Regions from separate parts of the Homo sapiens genome. Here region 2 is linked to region 1. Evidence: promoter capture Hi-C in 16 types of primary human blood cells and fetal thymus (Javierre and others, 2016). All regions are on one chromosome and are shown on one strand. The core of a region is centred on a gene start or on the middle of the fragment in contact, and the rest is flanking DNA. Distances in the headings are between cores, read along the strand shown.

The links. Contacts are between HindIII fragments. The CHiCAGO score rates a contact against its expected background, and 5 or more counts as called.
Region 2: a contact is called between a fragment that was not itself captured here and the fragment with the promoter of MCF2L-AS1 in region 1, in 5 of 17 cell types (naive CD8 T cells, total CD8 T cells, total CD4 T cells and 2 more). The highest score is 10.2, in naive CD8 T cells.

Annotation. Positions count from the first base shown.
Region 1 is chr13:112,966,508-112,971,310 of GRCh38, reverse strand. MCF2L-AS1 (MCF2L antisense RNA 1) reads left to right here and starts at 2,673. Exons shown (of 1, transcript NR_034002.1): 1 at 2,673-3,827. It overlaps MCF2L (MCF.2 cell line derived transforming sequence like), which reads right to left and starts at 2,097. Exons shown (of 30, transcript NM_001112732.3): 1 at 1,853-2,097. The coding sequence starts at 1,931. RefSeq lists a silencer at 2,162-2,221 and an enhancer at 2,423-2,942. The HindIII fragment of the contact is 5,254 bases long and covers 1,816-4,803 here.
Region 2 is chr13:113,213,669-113,218,739 of GRCh38, reverse strand. All of the region lies in intron 2 of CUL4A (cullin 4A), which reads right to left. Among named protein-coding and RNA genes, the nearest start is that of CUL4A, 6.6 kb to the right of the region's middle. The HindIII fragment of the contact is 3,901 bases long and covers 1,291-5,071 here.

The DNA of each region.
Region 1 (4,803 bases), core at 1,424-3,923:
CTGCAGGTGGGGAACTCTCCTGAGGAAGTGCTTGGAATTTAAACCCGAGGTGGGGATCAGGTTTACCTTGACCTTCACCCCTACCAGAGAATGTGCACCACATACCCGTACACTCTGTGGTAGCATCATGTCAATACTGCATCATAAACCCCCTCATGATGGTTTTACAGCCTTCAACCTAATAACTTGCCTCCGCTGAGCAGTACCTCACACAGCGTGAGCAGAAAATGGGTTTGTGCTGAAGGAAGAGGCCAGTGTTAATGGGTGGTAAGTGGAGTATGATGCAGGGTCACCTCCCCTAACTAAACGCTACAGGGTGCTCATAACCGAGGATATCTGGTAAGCTGGACTTGAAAGTCCTGGTGAAGCATGCAATTATCGGTAATGCAGATGTGTGGGAGGACGCACATCTCACTGCCTGTTCCAGATGAGACGATGGCCCACACCGAGCGCCCGGCTCGCACGACATTCAGTGAGCAGACAGTGTCACTGCTGCTCTTCTGAGATAGCCTTTTTCCAATTAAAAATGCGCACATGTCTCTTGGAGCTCATGAAGAAACCCCAATCCCTAAAAACCTGGGGAATGACATCAGCCTCTGGAGCGGTTCCCACTCTGTGACTCTGACACCGAACGGCACGCAGAGGCATGCAGAGCAAGGGGGGCTTTCTCCTCCACCCCCACAGCCGATCGGAAGCCTCCCTGTGAACCTGGCATCCACGCAGCCCTTCACCATACTCAAACCCTGCAAACCCTGCACGGAAAAGCTCCACTCAAGCTTCAGAAAAAGAGCTGATTCTCTAAGAATCAGGGAGCAGACGGCATGAAAATGGTTTTGTTTTCTTTCGACCCACATACAATAAACCCAGCAGCTTTGATCATAAAAGCCCCCATTAAAAACATCTTGATTAGACCATCCCATACGATGGTGCTTATGCTGATTTAATCACTGGTTCACTCTCAGAATCCATCGGGGTGGGCAGAGAAAGAGAACCACACCCAAACCAAGCAACTGACATTTTAATCTCCCAGGCAAGTACTAGTTAGACAACTAGTAATGGCATATATGACATAACATATGGCAACATCAGGCAAAACACTTGGCAACTTACTTTTAATGATATATCATTATTTCCTCTTCATTTCAAGGAAAACGAGTTAAGGATGCCTCTCCCTTCTGCATAACACAGCCTGAGAACTCAGATGCGACCGCCTGAAAGCCACGGCCAGATGCAAGCTGTCAGCCCAGTCTCTGCTTACACCTAAAAGAATCGATCTGAACTACTCTTCAAAGCTTATTTGAAGTAATATTTCGATTAATACTGAAAATGAACGTCCAGTCCACTCTTTACCCATACCGTCTCAAACATCTGTCTTAGGTTTAAATTGCATTTAATGAAGAAAAGAACCACCTGATTAGTCCAGGTTTTTTCATCCTCAAAACGAGCTTCCAGGTAGCTTCACCATCCCTACCCCTGGCTCTGAAACCCCAAGCTCTGAAAGCCCTTGGCTCAGATCATTCTCCATTCGCAATGCATTCTCCATTGCGAGGGCTGCGGACAGGCAGGTTGATGGGCAGACTTCAGACACACAAATGGCTCCGCATGCAGACCCAGCAACCCTGAGAGAGCCAGTGTCACCAACGTGCAGTCATTTTGACTATCCCGGGCAGCATACGATCGCCGACAGCCTCTGAAAACACACCAGCTGCCAACCAGTGCCCCCCATGTCACAGCTACCACGGCTAGAAAGGAACACGAGGGCGGCTTACAAAAATCAGACGCATTTCCCCACATTTCAGCCCATGATGTCAAGCTTAAGCACAGATCACTGACGGCCAGCAGCTCCTCCTACCCGTGTGCTTGGAAACCGCATTTAATCTCTGCACCATTTCTTCCAAGGCCATCTCTTCAGTCCTCAGCCAAAACCTCATCCTCCGACACAACAAAAATGATCCTGGCAGATCCGCTTCCTCCGCACGGGGGGCGCCTGCGGGTGGGGCCGTGCGAGTGCGGAGGGGGCGCGGCGGAGGCGGGGAGGGGGCCACGGCAGCGCTTTCAGCCTCCAGCCGCCGCCTCCCTGCCCAGGATTGGTTCCGCGCCACCGGGAGGGGGGCGCGCGCTGCGCCGCGGGGGGCGGGGGGCGGCTCGGCGGAAGCGGAAGCGGCGCGCGCCCGCCCCGGTGTGTCACCACCGCGGGTCACCTGGGAGTCCTGTGAGTGCACCGCCGGGGTCACCTGGGAGCCCCGCGTGTCACCGCCGCGGTCGTCGGGGAGCCCCGGGGCTCACCAACGAGGTCACCTGGGAGCCCCGCGGGTCACCGCCGCGGTCACCTGGAAGTGTCACCTGTGTCACTAGGTCACCTAGTGTATCACACAGGTCACCTAGAAATTCGTGTCACCGCCAAGGTCACCTAGAAATTCGTGTCACCGCCGAGGTCCCCTGGGAGCCCCGCGGGTGCCGCACAAGTGCCCCCGCCCTTCCCCCCGGTTCCGGGTCTCCACGCCCTCCTGGTTTGCGGGCAGCCGCGAAGCCGCGAGTGGACCGAGCGAGTGCAGCTGCCTCCGCGGGGCCGCGCCTGGCCGCCGCCTCCCTTTACCTCCGGCCGCCCCGTGGCAGGTGTAGAAGCTGCAGAGGCCGCAGCAGCCCAGCGCGCCCCTTCCGTGTGGCCGCATGCCACCCGCGCCGCGCCCAGGTAAGCAGGTCCGTGGGTCGCTGGGTCCATGCGTGGGTCCGTGGCTGGCCGGGGATGGACCAGCCCCTCCCCGCAGGGGCATCGCCTGCCCAAGGACGCAGGACCCAGTGAGGGAAGCGCGCGCTGCAGGCACGGGGCTCTCCACCCTCGCCATGGTTGGCACCAAGCCACACTGTGCACTCGACACACGCAGCGTCCTGGCTGCCACCTGCAGATTCCAGCTCGTGTCTATGCAGGGCCATGGCCGCCATCACAGGGCCATATGCAAGAAACTCTCTGAGCTCTCCTCGCCCAAAACCGCAGCTATCCTTTTGTGGTTTGGTATTATAGGTAACATGCCCTTCCTTAAAGAAACAGTATTTCAGGCCTGTAGTCCCAGCTACTCCGGAGGCCGAGGCAGAAGCTGAGGCAGAAGCAGGAGGATCATTTGAGCCCAGAAGTTTGAGCCTGGGCAATGTAGCAAGACCCCCCCCCCCACCTCACTCCCCAATCAGTTAAAAGAGAGAGAGAGAGAGAGAGAATTCCAGCAGGAAGAAGTACACATTTCCACGAATGGTTTGGGAATTCAAGCATCATATGGCTGAGGTTTGAACTACAGCTCATGCCAATAACATGTGCACATGCGCCAGCATTCCAGCGTCCAACAGAGCATGCGTGCACCATTCCAGCATCCGGCAACAATGCACCAGCATTCCAGCGTCCAACAGAGCATCCGTGTACCATTCCGGCATTTGGCAACAATGCACCAGCATTCCAGAGTCCAACAGGGCATGCGTGCACCATTCCAGCATCCGGCAACAATGCACCAGCATTCCAGCGTCCAACAGAGCGTGCGTGCACCATTCCAGCATCCGGCAACAATGCACCAGCATTCCAGCGTCCAAAAGAGCATCCGGCAACATCCCGGTGTCCAGTGGCACATGTGCACCTGGACGTTCCAGTGTGGTGAGCTTTCAGGCACGGAGCAAGGCCAAAGGGATAAAAAGATGAAGGTGACGCAGTACTCCCCCTTATAGTGCCTACAGGCCTTATAGGCCAGACAGATCTGGAAATAAATAATTCATAATAAAAAATAATTACAGAATAAGAGGCATAATAACCAGATAGAAAGTATTGAATAAATCTGTAAGAAATGGCTGCTTTGTTTTTGTTTTTGTTTAACATGAGAAACGTATTGAGTATCAGCAGTTTCACTTGGTTCTACAGAATCTCTTTGGAGACCAGTGAAAGGAGAACTCTGGAAAGGCCTCAGAGTGGATGGGAGCCTCTCCCTCTGTGGACAAGCGTTCCCTGGGCTGCCCAGGGTGCCTACGGCGGCACAATTGCTACCTCCTGTCTACACATGGTCTGCAAAAAGTGCCCTCAAATGGGTCTGCTCCTCTCATTCCCTGTCAGTTCAGGGAACCTTCACCACTCCCCATCCCCCACCGCCCCCCCACCCCAACCCTGCCCCTCCAGCTTCAGGGAAAGCCTGTCATCAGGCAGAAGGGTCCTGAAATGCAGGCCCTGCCCTTTCCACTAGTCTAAGGCACAACACCCTCCCTGGTCCTCAGCCCACACGGCCCTAGGCCACACTCCCTCTGAGCACCTGCCCTCTTCTCCCGGCCGCTCTCCTGGCATGCAGGTGCCCTCCAGCCTGCCCAGCCTTGGGCTGCGTCAGGATCTACCGAGGACTTGTTAAGCTCACACAGCTGGGCTCTGATGGCTCCTTGCTGATCCAGGAGGTCTGGGATGGGGCCCGAGGATGTGCATTTCTAGCAAAATTTCCTGGGATGTTGAATGTGCTGGTCCACACTTTGAGAAACACTGCTGAAATCTGTTGCATCTTAAAAGCAAGATGAAAGGAAAGGGCCACACCCTCTGGCCTGTCCCGCTTCTCCGATCTCCCTCTTCACCCCTTGGGCATCTCCACACATGCTATTGGCTTCTTTCCTCAACCCTGTGCCATCCACTCTGTCCCCTGGCCAATATCCTCTGGCTGGCACCATGTCATGTTGGGGCACCAGGGTGGAGACCCTTGGTCTCTGTGGTCATTGGCTTTATTACTTGTCAACTTGGCTGGGCCACCGTGCCCAGATATTGGGTCAAATGCTAGGTTAGATGTCTCTGTG
Region 2 (5,071 bases), core at 1,992-4,491, 250 kb before region 1:
ATGGGGGTAGAGGTAACAACAGTTAATGTGGGCACATTGCACCTGCTGGACCTCGGGTCCCAGGCAGCTGGCCTGCACCACTCCTGAGCATCTATGGTGCCCAGTCACTTGGGACTTCTCAACAGGTTTGATCCTCACAGGCCTGTTTCCGGGTGCTCCGATTCCTCAGTCTGAGATGGGGGTCACTGGAGTGTGTTTGTGTTTAAGTTCACCTTGATGATTACAAAGTGAAATCAGGGCTAGAGAACCAAGAAAATCTTTTCCCTCAGTGACCACCTTCCCATCAGGAAGGAGAACAACAGGCTGGGCCTTCCCCTCACACTCCCCAGGGCAGTGATTCAATCCAAACTGAGCTTTTTCTGGGTGACACAGGCCAGACTGTATTGTTTCCTATTTATTTTTCTGCAGGCTAGATGTGTAATTCACTTCAGTTTGTTTAATTAATAAACTTTCTTTTTTATTCTGTGAACACCCCTAATACAAGAAGAAATCTTTTTTTTTTGAGTTGGAGTCTTGCTCTGTCACCCAGGCTGGAGTGCAAAGGCAGGATCTTGGCTCACTGCAACCTCCACCTCCCGGGTTCAAGCGATTCTCCTGCCTCAGCCTCCCGAGTAGCTGGGATTATAGGCACCTGCCACCACGCACAGGTTAATTTTTGTATTTTCAGTAGAGGAGGGGTTTCGCCATGTTGGCCAGGCCGGTCTCAAACGCCTGACCTCAGGTGATTTGTCCGCCTCGGCCTCCCACAGTGCTGGGATTACAGGCATGAGCCACCGTGCCCAGCTGACACCATTTTTTGAAGCAGAAAATTTTTTCTCACAATATTTTTACTCACCTCAAAGAAACAATGCTTGTACATTCTTACCAGTTCTAATAAAATTTCCTTTCCAATCTTAGGTACAAAAACTTAAACTCATTCAATTCCAATATGAAATATTATAAACAGAAATATGGTTTTTCTAACAAGTTTTGAACCAATGTGGGGTTCGAAAAATGTGGGGATATACAGAATAAAAACACTTTAGATAAATAATCTGAATTTAATTAGGATACAATATACCCCTAGGAAAAAAGGTAAATTAAAGTTATAAAGCTATTCATTTTACTAATACTTACACAAGTATTAATAATTCCAATACTAAATATCGGAGAGCTGCTACATATTAACCAAAGTTAAATACATACAGTGATTACTACCATATAAAATACATGCATATTTACAAAGATCAAAAGAGGATGTGGAATAATTATAATCCTGTTTTTAATTATAATCCTGTTTTCTAGCAAGCTTATTATCAGCATAATAACAAAGAAATACAAACTTTCCCCCTACATTTTGTCTTACTATAGAAACGGAATTCCTACCCACATTCTGTATTTACTTTAACTCCTTTCTCAAACTCTTCAATTCCATCCCTTTGAATTCCATATCTTCATAATTTGGTCAAAGATCTGCCATCCTTTTGTCTCCTCAAACAACCAAGAGAACTTTACGACAAAGGTTTTGCTCCAGTAGTTAAACATTAGTGAATCCCACAAACATAATTATTACAAAGTAAGTTTTTTATATAACACATGAAGAAAATGTATTTTCTTCAGCAAAAATCAACAGTAACTTAGGACCATTTTCTGGATGTTTTAATTCCTAGACCAAGAACCAATATCCTTAAAACCATCTTTTCCTGGTTGTGGCAAATGACTAAATATTTTATAACCCACTCTGCCTCCTATGTGTCCTATTTGGTGCACATTTACTATTCATATGAGTCATACTGCAATTTACTTTGTTTTTAAAATTAAGAATTTAAGAACCTCTCAAAACAAGTGGCAAGCCCTGGGTAACCCAGGTTTGCTGTAGGTGCTGAGTCAGGACTCCCGGCTTCATATTACAGGCACTCATCACTGGAAAGGCGACAGCCTTTGTTTCTCCCCGCCCTGCCAACTCCTTGCTGGCAGGAACATACTGGAAGACTTTTTTGTGCTGTTATAGAAGCAGCACAACACAGGAGTTGCCCCTCCCCCAAATGGATTTTTGACACTCAATCATACTTTGAGATTTAGAAATACCCTCTCTGGATGCATAAAGCAACTAATCAGATGGTACTGTGTGCTTCATGTTGGTGCACTCAGGCCATTAGCATTTTAAAGATTCACCCCAGAGAAAAGGAATGTAATCCAATGATCGGAGGTAGAGAAGTATCATTTGCATTCTACTCCTATTAGTATCAAGATGCTTTCCTTGTATCAACAGCCAAGTGAGGAAATTTGGTGTATATCTACAGCCAGCACTGTCTCTTCTCACATCACAGCTACTTCCTAACTAGCAGGTTCATCAAATGATTGTCTGTATTAGCTCAACAGACACGTGTGTGAATGTCAAATACACGTCTATTTATAGTGTCAAAGCATTGCCTGGAGTGAACTCACTGCTACTTAAACAAAATGCTCACTGCGGATAAGGGCAATCCCTGCTCTCAGATGTGGAAGACAGAACAAGGAAGGCCATGGAGCTGTGGGACATGACCTCCATAGTCACACAGAGACCTCCACAGCCACATGGGACGTGACCTCCATAGTCACACAAAGACCTCCACAGCCACACAGATGAGACCTCCATAGTCACACAGCGACCTCCACAGCCACATGGGACGTGACCTCCATAGTCACACAAAGACCTCCACAGCCACGTGGACGAGACCTCCATAGTCACACACGACCTCCACAGCCACATGGGACCATGGGACGTGACCACCATAGTCACCCAAAGACCTCCACAGCCACACAGACGAGACCTCCATAGTCACACAGAGACCGCCACAGCCACATGGACGAGACCTCCATAGTCACACACGCGACCTCCACAGCCACACGGACGAGACCTCCATAGTCACACAGCGACCTCCACAGCCACATGGGACGCGACCTCCATAGTCACACAGCGACCTCCACAGCCACACAGACGAGACCTCCATAGTCACACAGCGACCTCTACAGCCACACGGGACGCGACCTCCATAGCCACACAGCGACCTCCACAGCCACATGGGACGCGACCTCCATAGTCACACAGAGACCTTCAGAGCCACATGGATGAAACCTCCATAGTCACACAGAGATCTCCACAGCCACACGGGACGTGACCTCCACAGTCACGCAGAGACCTCCACGGCCACATGGGACGTGACCTCCATAGTCACAAAGAGACCTCCACAGCCACATGGACGAGACCTCCATAGTCACACAACAACCTCCATAGTCACATAGCGACCTCCATAGGCACACAGTAACCTCCATGGTCACACAGCGACCTCCACAGCCACATGGGACGTGACCTCCATAGTCACACAGCGACCTCCACGGCCACATGCGACGTGACCTCCATGGTCACAGAGACCTCCACAGCCACATGGATGAGACCTCCATAGTCACACAGCGACCTCCATAGTCACATAGCGACCTCCATAGTCACACAGCAACCTCCACAGTCACACAGCGACCTCCACAGCCACACGGGATGTGACCTCCATACTCCCACACAGACCTCCATAGCCACACGGACGAGAGAGACCTCCATAGTCACACAGCGACCTCCACAGCCACACGGAACGCGACTTCCATGGTCACACAGTGACCTCCACAGCCACACGGGACGCGACCTCCACAGTCACACAGCAACCTCCACAGTCACATAGACAAGACGTCCACAGCCACAAAGGACGAGACCTCCATAGTCACACAGCAACCTCCACAGCCACACAGACAAGATGTCCACAGCCACATGGGACGTGACCTCCACAGTCACACAGCGACCTCCACAGCCACACGGGACGAGACCTCCATAGTCACATAGCTACCTCCAGAGTCATATAGCGACCTTCACAGCCACACAGGATGAGACCTGTGTGGCTGTGGAGGTCCCATTCCTACGCTGGGCCTGCAGCTTGGGTGTGAGGGAAGGATGCCACCTAATACAAAGGACTAACCTCTCTCTTTCACTGACCATTATCACCTGGTATCAACATGTCATGAAGACAACTACTCCGTGACTCAAGAAAGACAGCCTGGCTTTCCTCAGAACTTGCATGTCAGCCGGGTGCAATGGCTCACGCCTGGAATCCCAGCACTTCGGGAGGCCAAGGCAGGAGGACTGTTTGAGTCCAGGAGTTCCCAAGGAGCCTGGACAACATAGGGAGGCCACACCTCTCTCTCTCTTTTTTTTTAAAGGGCCTGAGAGGTTTGTTTTTGTGCAACAAAAAACAAAAAAACCAGTTCTAAATCAAAACACAGCCTTTCTCTGAAACCTTTCTAGAAATGCAGTCTTCAGTTTTCTGTTGTCTCATTTAGCAACAAGCAGGACTAAAACATAGAGACACAAGACACAGAAGATGCACTTTCTTCAGGAGTTAGTTATTACAGACCGAAATTCAGGTCGTTCAATGGAAAAGATCCATGCCTTCACAACATTCTCCTCTACACACTACAGGAGGAAAATGATAAAAACAAAGTAACAAACAGAAACAACAGGCCAGCTGAGGCCCAAAAAGTGTAAGTGACAGGACTCCTAAGGTGTTTAGACGTAGAGGGAGAGTGAGCAAAACCAAAAACCAAACACGAAACCAAACCTTTCAAACTTGGGTGAGAATTGGTCCTTTCACATAAGATTCTTTGGCAAAGTATACACCACCCCACCTATACAAAAACTGAGACTTTATTTTGAAACACCAAGTCAAATGTATTGCCTGCTTGATCAGACATCAGTAATTTCACATTTGCTTTTCTTAGATTTCTATCCCATTTGCTTCCAATAGATCTGAGGCAGCTCATGCTTCAGACTCTGTGAGAGGCCAGAAGCCCACCTGTGCGTGGAGAGATGATCACAAGTAAGTGAATCAACTGATTCCACATATCCCCTGGTGGGGCAGCACCTCCAGAGATGCCCCTGGAATTTGCGATGTCTCATTCCAAGGAGGAACCAGTGACTGTCATTTTGGGGTAAGCACTCCTAGTTCTCAGGGTTTCAAGACAGACACCTAAGGCACCTACAAACATTGTTCATAATATCTAGTGATTG